Linked DNA regions of Homo sapiens: all the other regions are linked to region 1. Evidence: promoter capture Hi-C in human tissues and cell types (Jung and others, 2019). All regions are on one chromosome and are shown on one strand. Each heading gives the region's core, a stretch centred on a gene start or on the middle of the fragment in contact. The rest is flanking DNA. Distances are from core to core; before and after follow the strand shown. Region 1 holds the start of WNT8A (Wnt family member 8A). Region 2 holds the start of KDM3B (lysine demethylase 3B). Region 3 has its middle 45 kb from the start of MYOT. Region 4 has its middle 7.9 kb from the start of KLHL3.

Region 1 (3,144 bases), core at 628-3,127:
CCAAGAAGGACTTTCCCACCTTTTGTTCTAGTCCCCAAGCATACCTAATGGTGCCCACTAGGGGTCACAGGGTCTTTCGTTTGTTCATCCAGGTGCCTTCTTAAGCTCTAAGAACCGAAAGTGAACCTAAAAGACATTCCTGGCTGGGTGCGGTGGCTCATGCCTGTAATCCCAGCACTTCAGGAGGCCAAAGGCGTGTGGATCACCTGATGTCAGGAGTTTGAGACCAGCCTGGCCAACATAGGGAAACCCTGTCTCTACTAAAAGTACAAAATTAGCTGGACATGGTGGCACATGCCTGTAATCTCAGCTACTGGGGAGGCTGAGGCAGGAGAATCACTTGAACACAGAGGTGGAGGTTGCAGTAAGTTGAGATGGCACACTTGCACTCCAGCCCGGGTGACAAGAGTGAAACTCTGCCTCAAAAAATAAAATAAAATAAGGCTGGGTATGGTGGCTCACGCCTGTAATCCCAGCACTTTGGGAGGCCGAGGCAGGTGGATCACGAGATTAAGAGATCGAGACCATCCCGGCCAACATGGTGAAACCCGTCTCTACTAAAAATACAAAAATTAGCTGGGCATGGTGGCGCACACCTGTAATCCCAGCTACTCCGGAGGCTGAGGCAGGAGAATTGCTCGATCCCAGGAAGTGGAGGTTGCAGTGAGCCGAGATCATGCCACTGCACTCCAGCCTGGCGACAGAGTGAGACTCCATCTCAAAATAAATAAATAAATAAATAAATAAATAAATAAATAAATAAATAAAATAAAATAAAAGACAGATTCCCACCTAAGGAGCTGAAGTCCTAGTAACAAAGTAGTATCAGAAAGAAAGGCATCAGGGCCACGCCCAGTGGCTCATGCCTATAATCCCAGCATTTTGGGAGGCCAAGGTGGGCAGATCACTTGAGCCCAGGAGTTCAAGACCAGGCTGGCCAACTGGCGAAACCCCTTCTCTACTAAAAATACAAAATTTAGCTGGGTGTGGTGGCTGGCACCTGTAGTCTCAGATACTTGGGAGGCTGAGGTAGGAGAATCACTTGAACCCAGGAGGCAGAGGTTGTAGTGAGCTGAGATTGCACCACTGCACTCCAGCCTGGGCGACAGAGCGAGAGACTCTGTCTCAAAAAAAAAAAAAAAAGAGAAAGGCATCAGTCTTCCCAAATATAACCCTGGGTGGCCCTAAGGTTGGTTCTCAGATATATAAAAAATCAACTAACTGGAGTTGTAACCCTCAGATATAAAAGGATAGATTTGCTAGGAATTAAGGAAATTTCCCAGCAGTTGCTAGAATGTGGTGGAAGGGACTGTTGCAGAGATGGACTCTGAAGTGTTCCTGCTCCATAGTCCCACAGCTCCATCACCTCACAGCCTTGAAGGAAGTGGTAGGGATGGCGCACTCACTGGTTTAGGTAAATGAGTAGGAAGCAGCCCCAGATGGAGTTGCTTTATGATTATTAACACCTTGGGGAGGATGGCAGGACAGAGAGTGGGCTCTCACTGACAGATGAGGACACTGTAGCTCCAAGAATAGGTGACCTGCCTTCAGGGTTAAGGACCCAGCCTGCTCTGGCCTACATGATTCTGAGAAATGGGCCAAAGAAGCAGGAAGAGACAAAATTGACATATAGAAGAAAGAAATCTCACGTATAGGAGAAAAGCAGCCTCCTTCTCATTCTGGGAGGGAAGAAGGGCTGGAGGGGCTGGGCAGGGCGGGGCTTTTGGCGAAAACTGAGTCCCTCCTCCCAGATCCCCCACTGGGCCGGTGGCTCCTGCAGCCCTGCCAGTTAGGAACAAATGAGAAGAGCTGCTGATTTCCTCCCTTGGACATTCAGAATTTTCTCACATAAATACTGAGGAAGACCCTGCCCTCTCCTCACTTCTCTGGACTTGGCCCTGAGCTGGACCTGGTCCACTGGGGTAGGCAGGGCGATGGGGAACCTGTTTATGCTCTGGGCAGCTCTGGGCATATGCTGTGCTGCATTCAGTGCCTCTGCCTGGTAAGTCCTTTCCCAACCCTCACTCCTTGCCAAGGAGGCCCCCATTGTCTCATCCCCATTCACCTCTGCCTCACTTTTTCTCTTTTTGGTAGGTCAGTGAACAATTTCCTGATAACAGGTCCCAAGGTAGGATGATCTCCAGCTTCTGTTTTTACCCACTGAGGGCCCTAAGGGGACTCTTCTGGAGAAAAGAGGGGCGGGGACAGTGCCAGAGCCCCTCACCCAGAGGAACCCATGGTTGATTCTTAATGGAGAGCTGGCCCATCTGAGTCCTGCCTGCTCCCCCAACCACAGATGACCCATACCGGGCAGAAGCTCACAGCCCTTTTCCCTTTGCCAGGCCTATCTGACCTACACGACTAGTGTGGCCTTGGGTGCCCAGAGTGGCATCGAGGAGTGCAAGTTCCAGTTTGCTTGGGAACGCTGGAACTGCCCTGAAAATGCTCTTCAGCTCTCCACCCACAACAGGCTGAGAAGTGGTAAGTTTGTGTGGGACTCACCTGTACAAGGGGTATATATGTGAATGGAGTGGGGCTTGCAGTATGTGTATATGTGTGACATGTATTGCACAGTGAAATAAAAATGCTGCCAGTGACCTGCTGACCTGCCATTTCCTTGCTGTGTGGCCTTGAGTAAATTACCTACCCTCTCTCAGCCCCAGATTTGTCATTTGGGTCAGTAAGGCCAGTTCTGTTTAGTTCATCAGAAGTATCCTATGGGTTGAATGAGGTGGGTATGAGGTGTCTCTATGTATGAGATAAATGTAGGAAATTACTCTTTTTTTTTTTTCTTTTTTTGAGACGGAGTCTCACTCTGTTGCCCAGGCTGGAGTGCAATGGCGCAATCTCGGCTTACCGCAACTTCCGCCTCCGGAGTTCAAGTGATTCTCCTGCCTCAGCCTCCCGAGTAGCTGGGATTACAGGCATGCAACATGCCTGGCTAATTTTTTGTATTTTTAGTAGAGATGGGGTTTCACCATGTTGGCCAGGCTGGTCTCAAACTCCTGACCTCAGGTGATCCACCCACCTCAGCCTCCAAAAGTGCTGGGATTACAGGCGTAAGCCACCGTGCCCAGCGGAAATTACTCTATTTTTTAAATGCATGCCTATATTTGTGCGTTTGTACACACTGATCTTGCACTG
Region 2 (3,633 bases), core at 20-2,519, 270 kb after region 1:
TTTAGTAAAAGTATAAAGTCAATAGTTGGTTACCCCTCTCCCCAAGCCTTTGTTACAAGAAAAGTAGGTCAAGGGTGTAGACAAGGTTATGGACAGGAGATAGCTGGGGTAGGCACAGAAGCCTTGGAGAAAGAACCAGCTACCACTATTTCCTGTCTGTAGGGAAAATCAAAAAGTCACTTTTAGAACAACAGTCATGGGTTATTACTATACCCTTTATCTTTTGTATCCATTTTGTGTATACTCAGTCTCTGCATCCATGAGACCATGGAATGTGCTAGTCCCTGATATTGCCAGCTTTAAATGATTGAGGCAATTTCCTGTTGCTTATTGTGGGTAACAATCTAGCCAAAAATCTCAGCATCTCACTTTCTCTGCAGGCTCCTTTTCTAATCAGGAGCTATCAGTCTCCCACACCTGTATTAAATGCATTCAGATAAGAGTTACAGAATTTTCTTTGCCCCCAGCCCCACTAATTCCATGGTAAGATGGAGTGCTACTAAGAGAACCCCTTTACTGTTGGTCTATTTCCAGTTCCCCTAAGAGTTGAATGGAGAAACACGTAGACTTAATAACATTGGCAGACTAGGAAGGGGAAGAAGTTAGGTCGGTTTTAGGAAAAACACCAAGATGTTGGGGGGCACGTTGGCCTTCAGTCAGTGGAAAGAGTGGCATTATACATCCAATGGAAGTAATACATTGGCCAATTGGAAAGGAACCTAAGAAGTGCTGGCAGTATAGAATGGGATGGTGCTGTTATGGGCCATTGAGAAGGAAGACATTGTGTCTCATGGACCAATGGGGAGAACATTTCCTACAAGACAGCAGGTAGGAGCTCATATTTTCAGGATAGGAAATCAATGGGGGTATTGGAGACACTAAATAGCTCAAAACATCCACTCTCTAGGTACCTTGCCCCTCACCCCCTTACCCCGTAAATGTCTTTGGTATCCGAGGAGAGCAAGCTAAAGCCCTCTCATATATACGACTCCCTGAAGGAAGATTGAGACCAGGGATGATGCCATGGGGAAGCTGAAGGACCCGCCCACTTCCCTACCCCGGCCGGACCTGCAATTCCCCTCCAGACCGCAGGGGGCACTGCAGGCCCCGGGGAGATTGGGGCGGAGCGCTGCGAGGGGCCAGGAGCTGTCGCCCCGCTCCAGAGCGCGGGGGGCGCTGTGCGGGGCCCAGGCTGCGGCTCCGCTCCCGGCCACGGGGGGCGCTGCGCTGCGCCGGTGGTTGGTGGTGGCTGTTGGGGGGGGTGGGGGGGAACGGCGGCCGCGGGTGGTGCGGAGGGAGGCCTTGCGGGCGGATCGGGCGCTTGGCGGCGGAGGTGGTGGGAGGCGGCGGGCGGGAGCGCGGGTCAGGCCGGCCCCGGCGATGGCGGACGCGGCGGCCTCCCCGGTGGGCAAGCGGCTGCTGCTGCTGTTCGCGGACACTGCGGCCTCAGCCTCGGCCTCGGCTCCCGCGGCGGCAGCGGCGAGCGGAGATCCGGGGCCTGCGCTGCGCACTCGAGCCTGGCGGGCCGGCACGGTGCGGGCCATGAGCGGGGCGGTGCCCCAGGACCTAGCGGTGAGTGGCGGCCGAGTCGGGCACTCGAGGCCGGGGCTGCGGGGCCTGCGGGCGGCCTCCCCGGGGGCCTTTGTGAGGGGGCGGTGGGATGGGGGTGACCCATTTCCGTGCCCCCGGGTCTCCTTAGCGCCCCCCGCCGGCACCTCCGCACCCCGAGCGCTTGCCGGCATGGCTTCCGCGTCGGGGTGTGCGCCCCGGTTTCCCCCGGGGGGCGGCCAGGGCGTCCGGAGCTGCTGCTTGCAGCCAGCAGGCCCCGCCTCCTGGGCGACCCTTTTCTCGGCGTTCCCCCCAACACGCCTTCGGAGCAGGCTCTCGAATCTTGAGCTCCCGGGAGCCTCAGAGTTCGGCCAGTGTTGCCGCTGCCCTCTCGAAGACGCGGACCTGTGGTCCCCAGCCTCTCCCAGGAGACCTGCGCCCTGTTCCTTTTCTCCCAGAGCCCCAAGTGGGGCGGGAATGTGGGCAGTTATGGGAGGCACGGAGGCTGCAGTTGGAGCTGGTCGGGGCTTTTTTATCTGGCAGTTACTTCCTCATCTGAGCTGGGCTCGGCCTGGCGGTCTCCAGAAAGGCCAGCTCTCGGCACTGTCTCGAGCTCTCCTCTCCTTTCCTTAACGCTTCTGGGTGACAGGAGCTGCAGTTGTGGCTGTTTTTGTTAAGTTTGAGATCTTTCTTAGTGGCCGAACGGGGCTGCTGGGTAGTGCTTTTTGCTCCCAGCTCAGCTACTCCCCCAACCTTGGGAGAGGTTTTGTTTTGAAACTTTGTGTTTGGGCTTGGCCCTTTTTGAATGCCTTGGTGTGTTTTGTGATTAAAGTTGTTCAGTCATACAACTTAACTAGCATTCGGGATCATGATGTGTTATTCTCGTTAATGTGGCGGTAAAATATAGTGTTTGAGTTTTGGCAAGCCACTTTATTTCCTCATTTTGATAGGGGCCCTAGCTTCTCTGGTGAGATAAGGCTATGAAAAATGGTGTGTGTGCGTGTTGGGGCAGGGGGTGGTCTTTTGGAATGTAATAGATCAGCAAGCAGAAAGTAAATTTTCTTGATGAACTTGCTTTTGCAGATATAAACGGGAACGCAGTTTGTGAGATTTGGAAGTAATGTTGTAGGCTTCCGATGTTCATTTTTCTTCCTATTGATCAACGGTGTTAGACTGTCCTTTTTCACTAATATACAAGCTTTATGGATTTTTTTTGTGGATGGCTTAGGCTTTGCTTCTGCTACTTGGGTTCATTTGCTTTGATTTTTCTTCATGCTGTATAAGAAACGTTACTAGGACATTTATAAGGCCTCAGTGGGGCAAATTTGCAAAAAGATACTAAAAATTTAAGGGGATGGAATGATGATTAAGACTGGGATTTGGATCTCTATTCCTCTGCGCTTTCTTTAAAAGATGGCTGGGATGGGAAAAGAAGTGTCCATTTCAGATTCATTCTACCACCTTGGAGGCAAAACATACTTAAGATCCACTATTATATGCATACTTTGACCGAAGGCCTACTTTGCCCTAGCTATTCATTGGGATTTTTTTCTGGTTCTTGCAGTGGTCGTCTCGTTTCCTCCATCAGATGAATTGCTAATGAGCTCTGCACCTGAAATGGCTCCCCATTCACTTTGTCGTTTGCTGTGCTCCCTAAGGGCAGAGGATTTTGGAGCTCACTTCCTTGCTGGACACCCACTAAGCTAAATACTGAATAATTTTACCACTGATCCCACGGAACTGGGTTCTCAAACCAAGTAAAAAGTTGCAGTGATTCTTGGAAATTAAAGCAAAGAACATTACAGCTGTGTTGAGGTCTTGCATAGGGCTGTGTGAATGTAGAAGCAAAGGCAGGTTTGTATTTTGAGAATACATTTATGCTTGTCTTACATGTATATCCAGGGACATAGATGAGAAAACAGCCAGACCAAAACTCAGAGCCTTTAGATTTTTTCACCAGCTTGCAAAATTGTTCAAGAATTGGTATTTTGTTGAGGTTCTATTAATGACAATGACCAGTGTAGGATGAGAATGGGCCGTTTTCTTTTTTTCTCATTAAGAGAGATTTCCTTTGGACCGTAGGCA
Region 3 (3,399 bases), core at 31-2,530, 260 kb before region 1:
ACACTTCAAAAGATTTTCAAATGAATGCTACAGACAGGTTTCCTATTTCCCTCTGTCTCAGAAGGCCCTCAAAATCCCCTCCACTGAAAGAAACAAAGCCGCTTCAAGCCTCCCAAAACATCTTGAAAATACTCACATTTTCAAAAGGACTGCACTCATAGGAAGAAACCTAAACTGAAGTCTTATTTCTCGAATGAACTAATTATTTAATATTGGACAAATTATCTCCCTTCTTTGTGCCTCTTCAAAAGTGGAGAAAGTGTCCTGAGATTCTAGTTTAAAAATGGGGCTCCTGGTAGGGCGCGGTGGCTCACGCCTGTAATCCCAGCACTTGGGGAGGCCGAGGCAGGCAGATCACAAGGTCAGGAGATCGAGACCATCCTGGCTAACATGGTGAAACCCCATCTCTACTAAAAATACAAAAAATTAGCCGGGTGTGGTGGCGGGCGCCTGTAGTCCCAGCTACTCGGGAGGCTGAGGCAGGAGAATGGCGTGAACCCGGGAGGCGGAGTTTACAGTGAGCCGAGATCGCGCCACTGGACTCCAGCCTGGGCGACAGAGTGAGACTCCGTCTCAAAAAAAAAAAGTGGGGGGGGGGGTCCTTTGAGGAATTATTTAATATTAACCAGGGGGATTTGGTGGAGTGAGAAATGTAGACAATGGTAAAGAAATAAATCCTCTTCACCTTTGTAGGATAGAGCAAAGCAGCATCCAAAGGCCTTTCCTATCTTCTCCTGGCTTTATCCTCCACTAAAGACGAGGGAAGATAGGATCCTGCTGCCACCTCGTGGCACTTTAGGCAGCACAAAAAGAAGGGCTTACTCAATAGGGTCATACAACCCAAATGCCCCTCAGGAAACCACATCCTCCTCCTCCTCCCTTACAATTAACTGCACAGAGCTTGACCATTCACAAAACACTTTCAACCCTATTATCTCATTTCACTCTTCCAACAACTATAGGATGGGGAAGGGGAAGGCGGGGGCGGGGGGCGGAGGGAGCAGAGGGGGCAGGGTGTCAGGACTGGCTGGAGGCATAACTCCAACTCTGTTGAAAAAGCCAAAGCTCAGAGAGACTATGTGACTTGCCTAAGGTCAAACAGTGAGTAGCTGACCGTACCTGAACCCACATCCCTTGATTCTAAATCAGGTGATTCATTATCTGCTGTATAGGGAAAAGGGTAAAACTGAGGTTTAGGTATGCTCCAGGTCTAGGAATTTGAGGGAAGGAGGCTTAAGAAGAGAAAAGGCTCAATTTCTTCTGCAGACACAACTGACTGGCCACAGGCCACAACCAGGCTGCTTGGAAAAAGGTCTACGCAGTCAACCTATCCACAGAAAAAGGTATGCAGATAGCCTGGGTTCCCGTCTTCCTTCTTGGTTTGCACATTCTCAGTTAACATCTCTAGGTATCTCCAGCTGCTCTCCCTCCCTCTACTTTCCAGCCCCAGCCTACCCATAGGACACAAGACTGATTTATGGCTAAGTGCTAAACACCAAACGGATCCCAGGCAAGGGAGCCACAACATCTAGAAATCAGCAAAAACTGCAGGGAGAGCTGCTATGTCCCTGGGTTAGAGCTCATAATATTTGTGGCTCAGCCCAGATTTTCCTGTAAGTTTTGGCAGAAAGCTCAGTTGGCTTGTCCCATATTGATGTCATGCACACTGAAACCCAGGAGGCAATGCTGGAGTTATGACTTACCAACTAGCATATAGGGATGGCCTAAGAATCTGAGAGTTTCCAATTTCTCCAAGGCAACCACAACTTCTTAAAGAATTGCAGCTGGGCACAGTGGCTCACACCTGTAATCCTAGCACTTTGGGAGGCCGAGGTGGAAGGATTGCTTGAGTCAAGAGTTCAAGACCAGCCTGGGCCACAGAGTGAGATTCCGTTTCTACAAAATAGAGAAAATTAGCCAGGTGTGGTGGCATACATCTGTAGTTCCAGCTACAGGGGAGGCTGAGAGTGGGGAGGATCACTTGAGCCCAGTAGGTCAAGGATGCAGTGAGCTGTGATCTCACCATTGCACTCGGCCTGGGCAACAGTGAGACCCTGTCTCAAAAATAAATAAATAAAAGAAATGCAAAGCCCAGGTGCCTAAACTTTCTACAACCACAGGTCTCCTTCCCTCTCTCCCTCCCTCCCTCCTTCCTTCCTTCCTTGTGAGTAGAGCATTCACTAAATGAGTGGAGTATTGTACGGGATAAAGATGACGAATAAGAAATAATTCCTTTGCGGAATCAGGATCTTGAAGAGATACCTGCATTCCTGTGTTCACTGCAGCATTATTCACAAGGACCAAGATACGGAAACGACTTACATGTCCATTGACAGATGAATGCATAAAGAAAATGTGGTATACATGTACAATGGAATATTATTCAGCCTTTAAAAAGAATAAAATCCTGCCATTTGTGACAATATGAATGAACCTGGAGAACATTATGCTAAGTGAAATAGGCCAAACATAGAAAGATAAATACTCTATGATGTCACTTATATGTGGAATCTAATATAGTTAAATTCATAGAATTCACCATGGGCTGAAGGAAGGAGGATATGAAAAGATGTTGGTCAAAAGGCAGAAACTTTCAGTTATGCAAGATGAATAAGTTCTGGAGAGTTAATGTATGGCATGGTGACTATCAGTAACAATGTTACACTATATACTTAAAATTTGTTGTTGATCCTAAGTATTCTCACACAAAAGGTATTCTCACACACACACAAAAGGTAACTATGATGGATATGTTAATTACCTTGATTGTGGTGATTATTTCACAATATGTATATCAAATCAAGTTGTATAATTTAAATATATATAAATTTTATTTTTTTTTCTTTTATTATCTTTTTTAAGAGACATAGTCTCACTCTGTTCACCCAGGCTGGAGTGCAGTGGCACAATAATAGCTCACTGCAGCCTCGAACTCCTGGGCTCAAGTGATCCTCCCACCTCTACCTCCTGAGTGGGTGGAACTACAGGCACACGTCACCATGCCTGGTTTATACAATTTTTCAAAAAAGAAATAATTCCTTTGATTAAAACTGTGTTGCCTAATGGTAAATGGGGAAATGGGAAAAAAACAAAAGTTATAAATGGATGTGAGATATAAACATTAAGTGCTTGGGGGTTAAGAGGGAAAAATAAGATTCCTTCTGGCTTGGGAGTTAGGGGACCAAAATGGATTTTAAAAAAGCTATTTCATGGATGTATAACATATAAAACCCTTCAGAAGTCTGGCCTTTACAAACCTTCCCTGCCTTCTCTCCTACTACTACCTTGCCCTCACCCTACCATATTCTGAACACAAGTTTTCTTTAGTAAGTTAAGGATTAAGAATATATGTTTTGCAATCAGATAGATCTTGGTTCCAATCCTACTTCTGCCATATTA
Region 4 (3,231 bases), core at 216-2,715, 340 kb before region 1:
CCTTATCCAGAGGAATAAGGACTCTTCCTCTGAAGGTAAAAGAATTCACGCCAAGTAGATTCCAGAGTATAATCACTCATGCCATTTGTGTTGCATTTTTAAGCTTACAAAGTGCTTCATATCCATCATCTCCTTTGACTTAAGACAACATCCCCTGAATGGTAATAATAGCTCCCATTCCTTGAATATTTACTCTGGGCCAGACCCTGTATTCCACACTTCACATGTACCCTTGTCATTTAATTCTCACAACCCTGTAGGACTATTATTTCTCTTTTAAACATGAGAGAATCGAGGTTCTGAGAGTTAAATAACTTGAACCAAGGCCCCACAGTTAGTAAATGGCAAAGCTGGAATTTGAACCCAGGTCTGCCTGACCTAAGAGACCACTATTAGCTATACACAGAATGTACTACCCCTATCTTACTGTCTCCATTTTAGAGATAAGCTAATTGAGACAGAGAGAAAAGGTAACTGGCTCAAAACTACTTAGAGAGCCAACCTCAGTGCAGAACCAGACCCTCAGATGCCTGGCCTAATGCCTTTTTCACCTTACCTCTGGATGAGGAAAAACAGCTTTGAACCCCTAAAGATATTACATACAAGCTGGCATCCAAGGCTTCCAAACAGCTACTATAATAAAGTCCTTCCACCTGGATTCATCTGGGCACCTAGCTTATTAACCAGGACTAGCCAAAGAATGCTCTTGGGGAAAGCTGGAAGAGTACCACTGGAACCCAAGGGAATTAAAAAAAAAAAAAAAAAAAAGGCGGGTGGGTGGGGGGCAGACCAACTAAAGCAACAAGCAGAGTGCTTCACACAGACCAGCACACTGGTCTCTGAGTCTTCCCATGAATCTGCAACCTACAACTGGTGCCCTCTGCTGGCAAAAGTATACATCTCTTCATAACAAAAGTAAAACCTAATTACTACAACTGGGGCTTAAGAAGGAAAAAAATATATGCTTCCTTCACAGACATTCTATTCAGGAATGAACATTATTTCTTACTTACAACTTTCCAATAGGCATATGCAACTTTAAATTGACTGCAATGATCCTCTCCTCTATCTGCTGCCCCTGCCTCACGCCTGCAGTTCTTTCCTTTCGGGATCCAAAGAAAATTGGGCTGTTTTACATAAAAAGGTAAAATATAAATGAATGATGCAAAGCCCTAAAGTCAAGAATACAGTGATGTGTATGTGGGTGAGATCAGGTCTGCACATCTAGCAAGTACAGAGAATTGAGGCAGGCACACACTTGAAGTGATATAAAACCCATGGGCACGTATGCTCAAACATTTTGGTAAATCTCTACCTTCGTAAAATAGCATGCTTATGATTCAGTCAACTAAGTCTCACTGAATATCTACTATGCAGGCTGTACCAGAGACTGACAACATAAATCCTATATTAATATAATTCCAAAGAGCACACAAGCTGTTTGAGAAAATTAGACATAGGCATATACAATGGTAAAAAGTATGAGAGTCAAGTACAGAAAGGGTATCATGGAAACTTGGTGGGAGAAGAGGCAACTTCCAGTTGGGGAGAGGGTGGATGACATGAGAATAGAAATAAATTGAGAACTTAATAATTCTATGGAGTTTTTAAAAGGTATTCATAATTGTAAATATTTGCAAATAGGTAATTTCAACGTCCCATGATTTCATTTAAAAAATTTTTTTGGCCGGGCATGGTGGCTCACACCTGTAATCCCAGCACTTTGGGAGGACAAGGAGAGAGGACCGCTTGAGCACAGTAGTTTTGAGACCAGCCTGGGGAACATGGTAAGACCTCATCTCTACAAAAAAAATTTTAAAACTTAACCAGGCATAGTGGTGTGCACCTGTAGTCCTAGCTACTTGGAAGGCATGGGCAGAGGGATCACCTGAGCCCAGGAGTTTGAGGCTGCAGTGAGCCATGATTGCACCACCACTGTGCTACAGCCTGGGCAACAGGGCAAGCCCTTGTCTTTAAAAAAATATTTAAAAGATACAATTTTTTCATCCCACTACTTTAATATACTTACATATTTATTATGTTAAATAATATATTTTTTCATTACAATTTCTATTGTGGTAAAATATACATTAAATTTGCCATTTTAGGCCAGGTGTGGTGGCTCACACTTGTAATCCCAGGATTTTGGTAGGCTGAGGTGGGAGGATCACTTGAGCCCAGGAGTTCAATACTAGCCTGGGCAATATAGCAAGACTCCATCTCTACAAAAAGATTTTTTAAATTAGCTAGCTGTGGTGGCGCGTGCCTGTAGTCAGTTCTAGCTACGGGGGAGGCTGAGGTGGGAGGATCACTTGAGCCCACAGTTCGAAGCTCCAGTGAGCTATGATCATGCCACTGCACTCCAGCCTGGGCACCAGAGTAAGACCCGGCCTCCAAAAAAAAGAAAAAAAGCCATTTTAACCATTTTTAAATATACGATTCATCAGCATTAAGTACATTCATAATGTTGTATAACAATCACCACTATCCATTTTCAGAACTTTCTCAACATCTGAAAAGAAATTCTGTATCCCTTAAACAGTAATTTCCCATTTCTATCTCTCTGAATTTGCCTACTCTGGGTACCTCATTTAAGTGCAATCATAGTATGTCCTTTTGTGCAGGCTTATTTCACTTGGCATGTTTTCATTCATCTTGTAGCATATACCAGAAATTTATTCTTTCTTATGGCTGAATATTCCATTGTATGTATATACCACATCTTGTTAATTCATTCACCTGATAACACTGAGTTAATATTTCACCTTTTGACAGACCACAGTTAACATTTCCCTAATATTTGACATTTAGTTTCCAATTTTTTGCTACGTCATAATTTTTATGCAAAGACTGTTTTCCTTTCAATAAATTTTTCAATAAACTGTTCTGTTAAGGTTAAATTCCTAGTAATGGTGTCCCAGAGCATATGAATACTTTAATAGTTCTTAATAAATAAATCCATAATTTTACTCTCCTCATTTGCCATTTTTCATAACCTGATGGACAAATTCCGGTCAGCAGTTTGTTACAAATGTATAAAGTGTGACAAAACCAAATGGAGGGAAGCTTTTGGAGAAAGAAAAGGAATTAACAAAGCAGAAACAGCTCAGAAGAGCTCTCCACTAGACAGAGCTGGCTGACTTCTGTGACAGGTTGCCCAACTGCTCCTTCTATCCATAACCTGATGTTTTCCAATTAACTTGGTGACTCTTTGAAAAAAAAAAAAAAAAT

What was found. The method cuts DNA at HindIII sites, captures the fragments that hold promoters and counts their contacts. A contact is called where the count stands out against the background at its distance.
Region 2: the fragment with the promoter of KDM3B here is called in contact with the fragment with the promoter of WNT8A in region 1 in 1 of the 25 tissues and cell types used here (adrenal gland).
Region 3: a contact is called between a fragment that was not itself captured here and the fragment with the promoter of WNT8A in region 1, in 1 of the 25 tissues and cell types used here (bladder).
Region 4: a contact is called between a fragment that was not itself captured here and the fragment with the promoter of WNT8A in region 1, in 1 of the 25 tissues and cell types used here (dorsolateral prefrontal cortex).

The regions. Positions count from the first base shown.
Region 1 is chr5:138,082,156-138,085,299 of GRCh38, forward strand. WNT8A (Wnt family member 8A) reads left to right here and starts at 1,878. Exons shown (of 5, transcript NM_001300939.2): 1 at 1,878-2,128; 2 at 2,343-2,481. The coding sequence starts at 1,973. The HindIII fragment of the contact is 19,757 bases long and covers 1-3,144 here.
Region 2 is chr5:138,351,416-138,355,048 of GRCh38, forward strand. KDM3B (lysine demethylase 3B) reads left to right here and starts at 1,270. Exons shown (of 24, transcript NM_016604.4): 1 at 1,270-1,572. The coding sequence starts at 1,381. RefSeq lists silencers at 970-1,049, 1,070-1,309, 1,390-1,859 and an enhancer at 2,110-2,209. The HindIII fragment of the contact is 4,490 bases long and covers 1-3,580 here.
Region 3 is chr5:137,821,565-137,824,963 of GRCh38, forward strand. No RefSeq gene overlaps it. Among named protein-coding and RNA genes, the nearest start is that of MYOT, 45 kb to the right of the region's middle. The HindIII fragment of the contact is 7,359 bases long and covers 1-3,399 here.
Region 4 is chr5:137,742,341-137,745,571 of GRCh38, forward strand. No RefSeq gene overlaps it. Among named protein-coding and RNA genes, the nearest start is that of KLHL3, 7.9 kb to the left of the region's middle. The HindIII fragment of the contact is 5,717 bases long and covers 1-3,231 here.